2 separate regions of the Homo sapiens genome follow, and region 2 is linked to region 1. The links are contacts of gene promoters, found by promoter capture Hi-C in blood cells and fetal thymus (Javierre and others, 2016). All regions are on one chromosome and are shown on one strand. The core of a region is centred on a gene start or on the middle of the fragment in contact, and the rest is flanking DNA. Distances in the headings are between cores, read along the strand shown. Region 1 holds the start of EIF3M (eukaryotic translation initiation factor 3 subunit M). Region 2 holds the start of HIPK3 (homeodomain interacting protein kinase 3).

Region 1 (7,327 bases), core at 1,640-4,139:
ACATAATCATTATTGCTGTCAGACATGGGTGTGCATTATACCCATGCACATGAAGAGGCAGAGGCTAGGATCATTGAACTTATGTTTTCTAAAACTGCAGTGATTCAGGCAAGAGAATGGGGACCTGTGCTCTATCCTGTTTATCTTTAGGGTATTCTTCCAGAGGGTTGCCCTCACTCACTGAGTCAGGGGCTTTGCGAAATTCTCTGGCAAACAGAATGAGCAAACATTCCTTCTTAGGTTTGCTACTTTGTCTCACAAGATTCATCCTGACCTAGGTGAGGACAGGCATTTCCTACTCAAATGTTGCATTTCCCAAGACTACTCGGGCCTACCACACCTCCATCCTGTGTGTGTGTGTGTGTGTGTGTGTGTGTGTTTATTTTGAATGAATGAAAGTTTAAAGTTTTAAATAACTGAGGACAGGCATTTCCGCATTTCCTACTCAAATGTTGCATTTCCCAAGACTACTCGGGCCTACCACACCTCCATCGTGTGTGTGTGTGTGTGTGTGTGTGTGTGTGTGTGTGTGTGTTTATTTTGAATGAATGAAAGTTTAAAGTTTTAAATAACTGTCCATATCCTCTCTCAAGAATTTCCCTGGGTGTTCTTTTACTTCACAAGGATCACAGAATGAAAAAAAAAATAACAATAGTAAAAAAGAGACAAGTCTTTTAAATATTTGATAAAATGGTATTGTATTGTTGAGTTTGTATTCCTCGAACTTTGCAATAATAAGGCGAGGGGAGGAGCCCAGGGATTATTCCTTCAGAATCAACTGGTATTTCCTGATGATCTGCTGTGGGCTGGGCACTGAGGTGGGTGCGGAAATGCAGGGTGAACATGACACAGGTTCCCTGCCTTCAGTTTCACTTTCCACATTGTTAAGGCTATTCCATGCAAGAATGAATCCTTTCAAATTTAGTCTAGCCAGATGTTTTGTGTCCTCTATCCCCTCAACCTTGTTTTTTTCCTTTGCTTGGCATTTATTTTATATTGAAGTATAATTGTGGTATCAATAAACTGCACATTTTTGAACTGCACACTTTGAAAAATGTTATATATGTATACAATCATGACACAATCACAGTCAAAATAATGAACACATCCATAACCCCCAAAAACTTCCTCAAGCCCCTCTGTATCCATCTTTCCCCCCGCCTTACCCAATCCCTGCCCCCAGGCAACAGCAATCTATAATGCTGTCATTATAGTTTCTACTTTCTAGAGTTTTATATAAATGGAATCATACAGTATGATGATTAACTGAACAAAATTATTTTGAATTATTTTGGGATTGTCAACTAAAGAAAAAAAATCAAGCTTTTATTTTAAGAGATGGAGTCTCACTCACTTTGTCACCCAGGCTGAAGAGACTGAAAAAAAAAAAAGATTCATCTGTGTTTTTGCATGTATCAATAATTCATCCTTTTTTGTTGCACAGCAGTATTCCATTAAGCAGATGTATAACAATTTTTTGATCCACTTCATTCATCTATTGATGAACATTTGGGTTGTTTCCTTTTTTTTGGCTATTGAAAATAAAGTGTTAACTTTTTGGAAACTGTCTCCTGAAAAAGCTAAACATAAATTTACTAAATAAGCCACTGATTCCTCTCATAGGTACATACCTAAGAGAAATATACGTACACACAAAATCTTGTGCACTAACGTTCATGGAAACATTATTCATAATAGCCAAAAAATGGAGACAACCCAAGTGTCCACCAACTGATGAACAAATCAACACAATGTGGTATATCCATAACAATGCAATATTATAAGCAATAAATAGGAATATAGGAGGGATACATGGACGAACCTTGAAAACATTATGCTAAATGAAGTAAGTCTGACTTAGGCCACCGTGTATTTTGTGATTCCACTTACATGAAATGTCCAGAAAAGGCAAATTCATAGAGACAAAATGTAGTGTTTGCCAGGGGCTGGAGAGAGGTGGGGCCGGGGGTCTGGGGAGTGATTGCTGATGGGTAGTTTCTTTTGTAGGTGATGAAAATGTTCTAAAATTAAATAGTAGTGATGGTTGTGCAACTCTGAAAATACTAAAAACTACTGAATTGTGTATTTATTTTATGAGACGGAGTCTCGCTCTGTCGCCCAGGCTGGAATGCAGTGGCATGATCTGGGCTTACTGCAACCTCCTTCTCCCAGGTTGAAGTGATTCTCCTGCCTCAGCCTCCCGAGTAGCTGGGATTACAGGCGCGCACCACTATGCCCCGGTAATTTTTGTATTTTTAGTAGAGACGGGGTTTTGCCATGTTGCCCAGGCTGGTCTCCAGTTCCTGACCCCAAGTGATCCGCCCACCTCGGCCTCCCACAGTGCTGGGATTACAGGCGTGAGATCCACTGCGCCCAGCCAAAGCTGCTATTTTTTAAAAGCGGCAATGAACATTCTTGTACAAGTCTTTGTACGGACATACAGTTTGGGTAGAAGAATAGCTGGGTCATATGCTGGGTGGATACTGAACTTTTTCAGAAACTGCCGCTCCTCTGCAAAGTGACTGCACCATTTTATGTTCCCAACAGCAGTACAGGAGAGTTTCAGGTCTACACAAACCCATCCATACTTGGTAAGACCCAACAAGCTTAACATTTCAAGGGAAGGTGGACTTAGGGAGGCGCCAGCGGGAGGCAACATCAATGCAGTTAGCTACACGGGCCTGAAAACTGGAGGCCGCGACAAGCGTCGCTGAGTGGAGGCCCAGTAAGTCCCACCCACTAGGCCAGCCCGAGCGCGTCTGCCACGCCCTGCTGCATTCCGCGGCGAGAGCGCGCGATAGGATTGGCTCTCAAGGCCCCGCCCCAACAGGTCGCCGCTCAGGGTGACCCGGAAGCAGTTGCGCCAGCAGCGTCGCGCGGCCCAGTTCCCTTTTCCGGTCGGCGTGGTCTTGCGAGTGGAGTGTCCGCTGTGCCCGGGCCTGCACCATGAGCGTCCCGGCCTTCATCGACATCAGTGAAGAAGATCAGGTGTGCTTCGGTCTACGGGTGCCGCCACGGTGGGGTGGGGGATGTCCTAGTAGCGCAAGGGACCGCTGCCGAGCCTGGGCCGGGCGGCCGGGGCTGACACCCGCAGCTGTTCTACACGCGAGAATGGGGAGGCCGGTGGCTGGGGCGCGCGTTCCTGGCCTCGATTCGCACCAGCTCGCCGGCCGGCGGTCCCAGCGCGGGGCCCGACGCTTCACCGCCAGCTCCCTGGTCGGCGTCGGGACTCATTTCTGACGACATAGTACTTTTAGACTGATGAGGAATGATGTCTGCTTCCGTCCGTCAAATGCAGCCACATTCGGAGTGGGAGGTGGTGAATCTGTAGTTAGCATAAGCAGGGTAGGGAAAAGTAATTTTGTGCTAAAGATCAAAATGCCGGGCCGGGCGCGGTGGCTCACGCCTTTAATCCCAGCACTTTGGGACGCCGAGGCGGGCAGATCACGAGGTCAGGAGATCGAGACCATCCTGGCTAACACGGTGAAACCCTGTCTCTATTAAAAATACAAAAAAATTACCCGGGCGCGGTGGCACGCGCCTGTAGTCCCAGCTACTGCCGAGGCTGAGGCAAGAGAATCGCTTGAACCCGCGAGGCGGAGTTTGCAGTGAGCCAAGATCGCGCCACTGCACTCCAGCCTGGGCGACAGAGCGAGAGTCCCTCTCAAAAAAAAAAAAAAAAAAAAAGATCAAAACGCCCGTATTACTGTGCGATCACAGGCGAAGACGACCCGTATTTTACACTTGCTTTCTATTCCTACTTGTATGAGGGTGAGAGTTGTTCTGTACCCCGGAAGTATGGTATCAGTTCAGCTCTTAAATTCTGTGAGGCATACACCTGATGGACCATCCTGATATTTTTAAATTTCCCGTTTGGCGTTTGCTCTTTGGTATACAGGGCTGATGGTTCTCATTTTCCCCATAACAAAAGTTTAACCTTATTTGGTAGGAGTTGAACACGACATCGTATTCTTTAAGTTAATTTTGTATTGCTGAAAATTCTTCTGTGAAGTCCTAACTTTGTCGTTTTATTTCTGTTACTCCACTAACACGGAAGTAACTTCCAAATGATTGGATATCATAAACTTCGCATGGAAGTTTACTTGTCTAAGACAACTTACAGAATTGCGGGAGTGAGTTCCCCCTCTCTCCTCCCCCCGCCCCATGGTAGGAATGCAGTTCCGATGCTCTGAAGAGCAAAGTAAGAAGGGAAAATGCAAAAGGCGGAGAAAAGGTCAAGGATGGGGAGGTTAAGCACAGATAGGAAGATATGAAAGACAAAAAGATACCTGATTAGAAATGGAAGCATGTTACCAACAGTTGGCTGTTAGGTTAACTGAGAAAGTGTTTGGAATTTTTTTTTTTTTAACATACAAAGTGAATGGAGGAAGTTCTTGTCATTGATCGTATCTTAAAGTGTCTTTTCTCAGGCTCTGCTTCTGTTCTTGTAACATCAGTATCGCTGTAGACAGTCCTTTCAGGGAAATATGAAATTGCTCAGGATTAGTTTAACTTTGGTGAAATTCTCAGCTTGATTAGAGTTAAATGGAATTCTTTATCTTTTTTTGTTTTCCTTTGCTTATGCTGCTTCCACAACCACTTGTGGCAGTGAGGATGACAGAAAAACAGCAAACGTGGTTCAATAGTTCTTAGAAAAAGTTTGCTGTGTATCTGTTTCCTCCATAGAGAAGCATGAAGCATGATTTCTGGAGGTATTTTTGTTTTCTCTGACATGGTGACAGTTTGTTTTCTTTTTTTAATTTTGCTTATAATACCAACTCTTCTATGAAGTTACTGTGTTCTTGTTACCTGAAAGGATAGTACCGTCAGATCTGCAGGTTTAATACTTTCCTGAGGCAACTAAATATACTTGGGGGTTTAAAAATCTTGATGGCTTTGAATTTTTTTTTTTTGGCTTGGTCTAGAAAATGTAATGCCTGTGCATTTACTAATGGTATCCTTTCATATTCCTGTTGCACATCCTCATTTTATTATCTTTAAAACCAGGCTGAGCACGGTGGCTCACGCCTATAATCTTAGCACTTTGGGAGGCCGAGGCCCGTGGATCACCGGAGGTCAGGTGTTTGAGACCAGCCTGACGAACATGATGAAACCCTGCCTCTACTAAAAATACAAAATTAGCTGGGCATGGTGGCGCATGCCTGTAATCCCTGCTACTTGGGAGGCTGAGGCTGGAGAATCATTTGAACCCCGGAGGCAGAGGTTGCAGTGAGCCGGGATCGCTCCATTGCACTCATGCTATTGCACTCCAGCCTGGGCAATAAGAGTGAAACTCCATCTCAAAACAAAACAAAAAAAAACTGCGTTTGTTTGGCTGCCATAAAGAGTCCCAGAAGAAAAATGGAATAAATATATATAATTCGGTAGTAGGGTAGGAAATGTCCAAGTGACTGAATGTGCTATTGTAGTTGTGTTTTTATAGGTCCGAAGATGCATGCTGACTCAGATATGCATTTTTAATTTTAAGAGATTAGTTACATAACAGATCCAGTTCGATGTAATTTTAAGGCAGCATTCACCGCATTGCCCTTTTGTGAACCAAAATGCTTATCTCAAATAGCTTCTCAACTGATTAACAAATGATTACCCTTTTGCCAAGGTAATGTCTGTAACTTTTCTAGTAGCTGTGGTTATGTGTGTACTTGAGAGCAATACTATTGTTCATTTCTTTCAAAAAAATGAAATCTGCCAAGTCAGATTGATTTCTTCTCCCCAGCAACCACACCCCCACCAAACCCTTTGGGTTATATTATCAAAAAGATTTTTGCTGTATGCTGGAAGTCCAGCAGGGTGCAGACTACATGAGAGAAATTCTGAAGGTGATCCATGGGGGCTGTAGTGTGTCTAAGGAGCCACTGGACCTCATGGAGGAAAACCTGTGGCTCTTGTGGGATTGCCAAGATGGATGAGGTGAGGGAGGGGTCTTCAACATTATTTGAAATAGTTGTTGAATACAGTATTTCCGTTTTAGTTTTTCAGAAAGAGGACAGAATTTGAGATTGTGCTTTGTCATTCGTAGTCAGTTTTATAATAGAGCAATCCTCAACAGGCTGCTGAGCTTCGTGCTTATCTGAAATCTAAAGGAGCTGAGATTTCAGAAGAGAACTCGGAAGGTGGACTTCATGTTGATTTAGCTCAAATTATTGAAGCCTGTGATGTGTGTCTGAAGGAGGATGATAAAGGTTTGTTTTTAATTTTTTTCTAATATTTCCTAATAAAATCTTTTAAATTTTTCTTGTGAATTATAGAGTCGTCCCTCATTATCTGAGGCAAGGAGGATTTGGAACCCTCAGATACAGAAGGCTGACTGTATTTATATGTTTTGAATTTCAGACTACAGGACTTTTAAATAGATAGGTAGTGGTTGTATGTATTTTGGGGGCACAGGTGATATTTTGATACATGTATGCAATGTGTAATTATCAAATCAGGGTAATTGGAATATCACACATCTTTTCTTTATGTTGGAAACATTCAACAGTTCTCTTCTAGCTCTTTCAACTATACAATACATTGTTAACCAGAGTCTAAGCACTGTTGTTTTCAATCTTACCTTCACACATGCTTTCAGTTTGTGTAATCTATTATACCTATAAAGTAAACCTATTTTGAGAAAACCTTTATTTTATACATAGGTGTATTTCTTAAGTGTTATTACACTAAATGCTTATAGTCTTAGAATAAAATGAAAAAAATGAAGCTCTTTCCTGTTCATAAGTTTCAGATTAACATCAAATGGGATACAGTTTCAAGTAATCTAATAGCCATTTAATTATTAGGCCAGTTTCCTGTTTATTGAGATAGAATGGGAAATTTTCAGAATTGTTGAGTTCGGAAATCTCTAGTTAAGGTTTAGAGATCAAACTTGGATGCTGATTTCGGCAGCACATATACAAAAAAATTAGATTAAATTTGGGATATGATTAATATCTGTAATACTTAAAAATAACTAATTCAAGCAGAGAGCTGACAGCTTTAATTTCTGATTTCCTATATGTATACACAAAGTTTTCCTTAATTAAGAAAGTATCCTAGTCCTAAATCATACCAGTAACTTCCAAATGATTGAATATCATGACAGTGAAAATTGAAACTTTATATACATGTAAATCAGTCTCTGTTTTACTAGTTAGAAACCACATCATAGGCCAGGCATAGTGGCTCACGCCTGTAATCCCAGCACTTTGGGAGGCCGAGGCAGGTGGATCACATGGTCAAGAGTTCAAGACCAGCCTGGCCAATATGGTGAAACCCCGTCTCTACTAAAAATACAAAAATTAGCCGGGCGTGGTGGCGGGTGCCTGTA
Region 2 (7,327 bases), core at 1,278-3,777, 670 kb after region 1:
GCCTGGGCAACAAGAGCGAAACTCCACCTCAAAAAAAAAAAAAAAAAAAGCCAGGACCTCCTGGGAGGGAGGAGACAGAAGTCCCCTTGGTGAACCTCTCCTCCTTGATATTAGTAACTAGGGGGCTATTTTTGGTTGACAGGGTACCTCCTATTCTCCCAAGGTGTAATGGTAAGAAAGGATACCCAAGGACTAGAGAAAAAAACAAAAACAAAACAACAACCAACTTCCCTGAGGAAGGGGAGTGTGGATTGGTGACTCAGGCTCTGAAAAAGTTCCCAGCTTTTTCTTGAAACTGCATGGCTTTGGACAGAAGCGTCGGCATCATTTGTGGAGACTGCGGAGGGCCATCTCTTCACAGGAACACCTATATGTGGTTTAACGAGGAGCAATGGCAGCGAAGAACACAAGGTGAGTGCGAGGAGGACTGGCCTCCTTTGGGAAGAGTAATGTTATTTTTATTTATTTATTTTTTTAGGCAGAGTCTCATTCTGTCACCCAGGCTGGAGTGCAGTGGTGTGATCTCGGCTCACTGCAACCTCTGCCTCCCAGATTCAAGCTATTCTCATGCCTCGGCCTCCCGAGTAGCTGGGATTACAGGTGTGTGCCACCACATCCAGCTAATTTTTGTATTTTTAGTAGAGACGGGGTTTCACCATGTTGGCTAGGTTGATCTCGAACTCCTGACCTCAGGTGGTCCACTCGCTTTGGCCTTACAAAGTGCTGCGATTACAGGCATGAGCCACCACGCCTGGCCTGGGCAGAGTAATTTTTGGAGGTAGAGGTGGGAGGAATAGCTGAGAGAGAGGGCTTGGATTTCATGGCTAGGTGATCTCAAACAATTGTGACTGCTCGCAGTCTGAGTTTATGGAGGGTTTCTTACTGATTCCATAGAAAATTTATTTTTTCACTTTACAAATATTTGAGTTCCCTTTACATGCAAGGCCCTGTTCTAGGCTCTGGGGATCAAAGCATCAAGAAAACAGACAAAAATTCTTGCCCTGTGAAAGCTTACCTTGAGGGACAAGGGAACAGAAAATATATATCATAGTATCTAAGATGATGGCAAGCCCTAAAGAGAAAGATAAAGACAGGGAATGTAAATATAGGTGGTCATCGCTGAAGAGGAGGCTTCACCATGAAGGCAATATTTGAGTAAGGACAGGAAAGAAAGGTGGATGGCTATACTTGAGGAATGTTTCAGGCAGAAGGTGATCCAGGCACCTACGGAGCTCCAGAGAGTGGCTGGAGTAAGGAGACAAAAAGTTGATTGAGTTCCTTGTGGGCTAGTTCTGTGAAGGATTTTATTTGTTTATTTACTTACTTACTTACTCAGAGACAGGGTCTTACTCTGTCGCCCAGGCTGGAGTGCAGTGGTGTGATCACAACTCACTGCAGCCTCAGGGCCCATCTCAGCCTCCCGAGTAGCTGGGACTACAGGCGTGCACCACCAGGCCAGGCTAGTTTTTGTATTTTTTGTAGAGAGAGAGGGGTTTTTGAAGAGGCTAGGTCTTGCTCAGTGATAGAATTACAGGTGTGAGCCACCAAGTCTGGCCCTTAAGTAATTTTTTTGAATGAAAACATTAAGGTTTTCTTTAGTATCTTCCTGTTTTATTTTTTAGAGGCAAGATCTTGCTCTGTCACTTAGCCTGGAGTGCAGTGGCGAAATCACAGCTCACTGCAGCCTGGAACTCATGGGCTCAAGCAATCCCCCAACCTCAGCTTCCCAAAGTGCTGGGATTACAGATGTGAGCTACCATGCCCTCCCCCAGCCTGCATTTTTGAGAGATCTTAGCACTATGAGAAATTTTCCTTAAAAAAAAAAAACAACCCTCAAACTTTGTAAAATAGCTACATTAGGGGCTTTGGGAGATTATCTAGATGTTTGTGTTCAGAATAGATTTGAAAGCCAGGCGCAGTGGCTCACACCTGAAATCCCAGCACTTTTGGGAGGCTGAGGTGGGCGGATCACTTGAGGCCAGGAGTTCCAGACCAGTCTGGCCAACATAATGAAACCGCATCTCCATACTAAAAATAAAAAAAAAATAGCTGGCTGTGGTGGTGCGTGTCTGTAATCCCAGTTAGGTGGGAGGCTGAGGTGGATGGATCCCTTGAGCCCAGGGAGTTGAGGCTGTGGTGAATGGAGATCACACCACTGTGCTCCAGCCTGGGTGACAAAATTAGACTCTGTCAGGTCAGGAGATCAAGACCATCCTGGCTAACATGGTGAAACCCCATCTCTACTACAAATACAAAAAATTAGCTGGGCGTGGTGGCACGGGCCTGTAGTCCCAGCTACTTGGGAGGCTGAGGCAGGAGAATCGCCTGAACCTGGGAGGCGGAAGTTGCAGTCCCAGCTACTTGGGAGGCTGAGGCAGGAGAATCGCCTGAACCTGGGAGGCAGAGGAGCTGATATCGTGCCTCAAAAAAAGAAAGATTTGAAGGGGAAGAGATTAGAGGTAAAGAAATTAGGTTAGGAGACAATAGGTATAAAGTGAAGGGGGGCTGGAATATATCATTTACTTATTTTGCAACATTTACTAAGGTCTTACCACAAGTCAGGCACTGTATTAGGCACTTGCAATATAATGGTTAAAAAAAAAGATGAGGCCGGGCGTGGTGGCTCATGCCTGTAATCCCAACACTTTGGGAGGCTGAGGTGGACAGAGCACGAGGTCAAGGGATCGAGACCATCCTGGCCAACATGGTAAAACCCCGTCTCTGCTAAAAGTACAAAAATTAGCTGGGTATGGTGGGGCATGCCTGTAGTCTCAGCTATTCGGGAGGCTGAAGCAGGAGAATTGCTTGAACCCTGGCAATAGAGCGAGACTTCATCTAAAAAAAAAAAAAGATGAATGAATCCCCTCCTGGAATATATAGTGTAGTGAGTAGCAACATGCAGGAGATAGAAAGGAAAATAAATCCTTGTCTCTCATTTCCATCTCTTCATGGATGTAGCAAATACAGGGAATGGAAGCCTTCCATTAGAGATGGCCTCCTTAAATGTCTGCAAAAATTCTGAAATTTGAAGTTCTAGTGGAATAGTTTCTCTGTTCCTCCTGACAGATTTTTCTACTATTGTAGCTTTCTCCGTTGAGTAAATGATTTTATCCTCTTTGATTCTTTTGACTATTGTTCTTAAGAAAAATAAAAAGTAACGAAATACTAAGTGAAAAGGAATGGTTCATAGGCTATCTCTCTGAAAGGCAGCCATTGTTTTGTTCTTCTATATTGGAAGCCTTTTCAGCTGGTTATCCTCTCTAACCTGAAAACAACTGTCATTCGAAAGTGTTATTTCCAGTGGCCTCAGGGCATACTATCCTTTCTCTTTTATTTTATTTTTTGAGACAGAGTCTCTCCCTGTCGCCCAGGTTGGAGTGCAGTGGCTCAAGCGATTCAAGCGATTCTCTTACCTCAGCTCTCGAGTAGCTGGGATTACAGGCGCCCGCCACCACGCCCAGCTAATTTTTGCATTTTTAGTAGAGACCAGGTTTCACTATGTTGGCCAGGCTGGTCTTGAACTCCTGACCACAGGTGATCCACCCGCCTCAGCCTCCCAAAGTGCTGGGATTACATGTGCGAGCCACCGCGCCCGGCCTCCTTTGTCTCTTAAAGGCATTATCCAAAATACTCATCTTCCGGTTTGAAGAGCAGCAGGGATTAAATGTGTATTATGTATGCAGCAATTTGCCACTCCCTTTGCCCTGCCCCAGTTACTGCAATAGAAAATTTCTGGGAATAAATACATCTCTGGTAAATTCAATCTTGCTAGTGAAGATTATGAAGGAAACAAAGAAAGGACACTTCCATTCCAGAAAGGTGTTTGTTTCCCAAAAGGTTAGACATTGATTCAGAACAAAGGGAACCTGAGGAAACGGGTATAAAAGAAAATCAACTCTGAATGTGAGGTATTAGAAAGCCATTTGTTTCCTAGGGAAAAGGAGGAAAGATGGGGTGGGAGACATGGGCTTTACTGTATAACCTTGGTCATGTCACCTAAACTTCTTGGAACTCCTGAGTGTAAGAGTTGGGACCAAGGATCGCAAAGCTTCTTTCATTCCTAAAATTCTATGGTTCCACGATTATGTAAGCTGAAACAGGCCATTCTGTTGATTTCCTAATCTCCAGGAGGAAAGAAACTAGTCTTTGGGAGTTAAACCGACTAATTTAACGGAGAATTACCAATGTGGAGGTGGGCGAACTTCACAATTATGGGGTTTTGGACAGTAGAGATGCTCTTAAAATTTCCAAGAGGACCCTTCCCCCGTCCTTGAACCTGGCTTTACAATTCTCTTCACTCTTTGGGATAGGGGAGCGGGTAGAACCTAGTTTAGATTGAGGTCGTTCATTTGAGCATTTCCCCTTTACTTATTTTGGGACCTTTAACGACCAAATGCCGAGAAACAGATCCTTAATTACGGTTCCGGGATCTCGAAAGGCCTGTAAAATCCTGCTTCCGCATCTTCATCCTTTCTTCGGGTATTGGGATCTTTTTTAAAAATGTGTATTTCTGGCGGAGGGGGCATGGAGTGAGGTTCAGAACAGCAGAGCCGGGCTGACGGATGCTTCTTTCGCGGGAGGCTTGGCTTGCGGGACTCCGGGTTGGGGCCGCACGGGCTGGCAGGCGGGCTCCGGGCAACAAGGGCGCGGCTGCGGACTGGCGGGCGGACCCCGGGGAGGGGCTTCACGGAGGCGCCGCGGCCGGAGCGGAGCGGAGCCGCCCGGGCTGGGCGCGCAGCGCTGCCGGGCGGGCGGTGGCGCTGCGGAGGCGGTGGCCGAGGCCGACGAGCGCGGAGGAGGGGCCCGAGGCTGGGGCGGCTGGTGGCAGCTGCCTCAGTGACGACTGCCGGCATCGCGGCGACCTGAGGAGATCAAGCCGCAGGCCCCGCCGTCGCCACCACTCCCGCCAGTCTTCCTTCTCCGCTCCCGGCCGGGGCGTCAGGAATGGGCCCCAATCGCCGTGGGCCCCGCACCCTGCGTCGCCCGTAGGCCCCAGTAGCCGGAGGCCGACCGGCCTCCCACTACCCCTCGCCCTAGCCAAGCCGTCCCCACCCCAAATCCCCGGGAAGGAAGATGAGGGAGACGGGCCCGGCGCTTAGCAGCCAGAGCAGCAGCAGCAGCAGCAGCGGTCGGGGGAGGGTGTTTCGCCGTTTCCTCTCAGCCGCCAGGACAAGATGGCAGCGGCCGCGGAGAGGGGCTGAGCCCGGGCTGGGTGGTGCCGCCTGCTGAAGCGCCTGGCTCCCGGTCCCCGGCACGGCCCTGCGCCCCACCCCGGACATGCTCAGGGCTGCGGCCGCCCGAAGAGGAGAGAGCGCGGGCCTCTAGGAAGGTAAGGGAGTCGAGCGAGGGGCGCCGCCACCCCGGGGTGGGGGGATCGGCTCCGTCTGCGGGCTCCGCGGCCAGCGGACCCCAAGCCTGACCCGGGCCTGGCCCGACACCTCCGGCGCAGCCCGCACTCATTGCGCGTCCCGTGCCCCATCCGCATCCCCAGCGCTCTCGTGCTCCCAGTTTCCGCCCTAGCCCCTGCAGTGTGGCCCGGTATGAGCCGCTCCCTCGAAGCCGGCGCCACGCCAGGCCCTGGGCCGCCGGACGCGGGGGCCGTAGCCTCCGGGAAGCCGCGCCTGGCCGGGGCCCGGGGGCCTCGGCCCCCCCTCCCCCTGCCAAGGTTGCGCAACGGCTCTTCCCAGCAACCGAAGTTTTGTTTAGTCCCACGGGGAGCCTCTCTTCCCCCTCCGCAGTCCTAGGCCGTAACTACGGAGATCCCTTTCCTTTCATTAAGGGGAACAAACAAACGCGCAGGCACGCAGCTTGAGCACCCCAGCCGATGGCCGCGTCCCGGGCTTTGTGGCCCCGTCCCCAGCGTCGCGGAGCAGCGGGTTTGCAGGGTGTCAACTCTGGGGACGTGCGTGCGTGTGTGTGATTGTTGGGGAGGAGAAATGTGATCCGCGGCTCCGCGTCCCCAGCGGCGGCGGGAGGAAGGCGTGGCGGCCGCGCGGCGGGGCTGTTGCCGGCTTCTCTCGTTACGGTGGCTGCCGCCCGCTTCCCTTCGCCGCACTGGGAGAACTGGCGGAAAGACTTTGGATGAAAATGTCTGTTTCTCTGTCGGGAGGGAGACGGCTGTTGTAAAATGGTATGTGGCTCTCGGGGAATCCTGTTGTTCCCGTCTCATCTCTGCTTGAGGAATTGCGCTGAAGAGTGTGTGCGTAAATTACCTTGGACTTGTTACAGAGTAGTCGTAACACGTTCAGGCCTTGAACCGTGTTTTCACAACCTCTTACTGCCCTGTTAGGGAATTTGTTTTTCCACCTGTCAGTTGGCTGCTTCTAATTATAATAAGGGGCTTCTATTAGCAACAGCAAAAAATTTCAGTTTATCGTCCAGTTTAGAGGGAAAGCGCATGGTTGGCTCTATTGTAAACTTTGTTTTGATGTCTGTCTGGTACAGGGCCGGAAAAGTTAGCTGGCAAACCAGTCTGCGTGTGCTTTTGCGTACTTTCTAGTAGTTTGGAGATCTGCTGACACTTTTTCCCTTTTTGCTATTTTAGGTATTTGCTTTTAGCTGTAGCTTCTGAAGTGGGAGTACTTATATTCATTCAAACCATCTCAGTTAATTTCAAAGTTTTAGTTGCTGGGCTCTTTAAAATTTTTAAAGAGGTTTCCTTTCTGATCAAATTTTTGATGAAAAGTCTTGAGCCGTAACGGTGGTTACTGCTTACCCAACTAAGACATTTTAATCCTATATTATTTAATTTTTCAGAAGCTGGTGAAGTCTCACCATATGTTTGATAAGTCTAGATTCTGCTTATGTTTGCAAGTGCAGTGCTAATTTTATACAATGAGCAATGATAAGGTTTAGATAGGTCATGATTAAACTTAGTATTTTAAGTAAACAAAATATGACTGACCTTTTGTAAAAAAAGTTTTCATAGTTTTATTGATTATCTTATGCTTTCGTGCCACTTATCAGTAATTGCAATTTTACCAGCCAGATACAGTTATTTAGTTTTAAGTCAATGAAATATTTCTTGGTGTATTTATGGCTGCATTCATAAAGTGTAGAGGACTTTTATTTCTGAACTATAATGCTTAACCTGTTTGAGATTTTTCTTTTTTGAAATTTACTTATTTAAAATTTATGTTAAGGCAGAGATGTGTTGAAATATTTGTGATGTTTGGGCATGTCTTTTTTTTTTTGTACTTATGGAAAAATTTGTTCCTTAATCCCCCCCTCTGCCTCCCGCCCCCCGCCCCAAGGGGATCTCTTTTCTAAGAAAAAAGTATTTGTGGAGAACCTTAGATTAAAACTGTTGTAAAAAAGTAAGATGAGT

Evidence for each region. The method cuts DNA at HindIII sites, captures the fragments that hold promoters and counts their contacts. A CHiCAGO score of 5 or more calls a contact.
Region 2: a fragment that was not itself captured here is called in contact with the fragment with the promoter of EIF3M in region 1 in 3 of 17 cell types (non-activated CD4 T cells, total CD4 T cells and activated CD4 T cells); the score reaches 5.6 in non-activated CD4 T cells.

The regions. Positions count from the first base shown.
Region 1 is chr11:32,580,942-32,588,268 of GRCh38, forward strand. EIF3M (eukaryotic translation initiation factor 3 subunit M) reads left to right here and starts at 2,890. Exons shown (of 11, transcript NM_006360.6): 1 at 2,890-2,988; 2 at 6,071-6,203. The coding sequence starts at 2,947. RefSeq lists enhancers at 2,601-3,253, 2,896-3,045 and silencers at 2,676-2,735, 5,766-5,865. The HindIII fragment of the contact is 5,112 bases long and covers 2,605-7,327 here.
Region 2 is chr11:33,252,561-33,259,887 of GRCh38, forward strand. HIPK3 (homeodomain interacting protein kinase 3) reads left to right here and starts at 4,821. Exons shown (of 17, transcript NM_005734.5): 1 at 4,821-5,329. RefSeq lists silencers at 4,576-4,905, 5,166-5,505, 5,576-5,775 and enhancers at 6,116-6,165, 6,206-6,295. The HindIII fragment of the contact is 3,038 bases long and covers 1,009-4,046 here.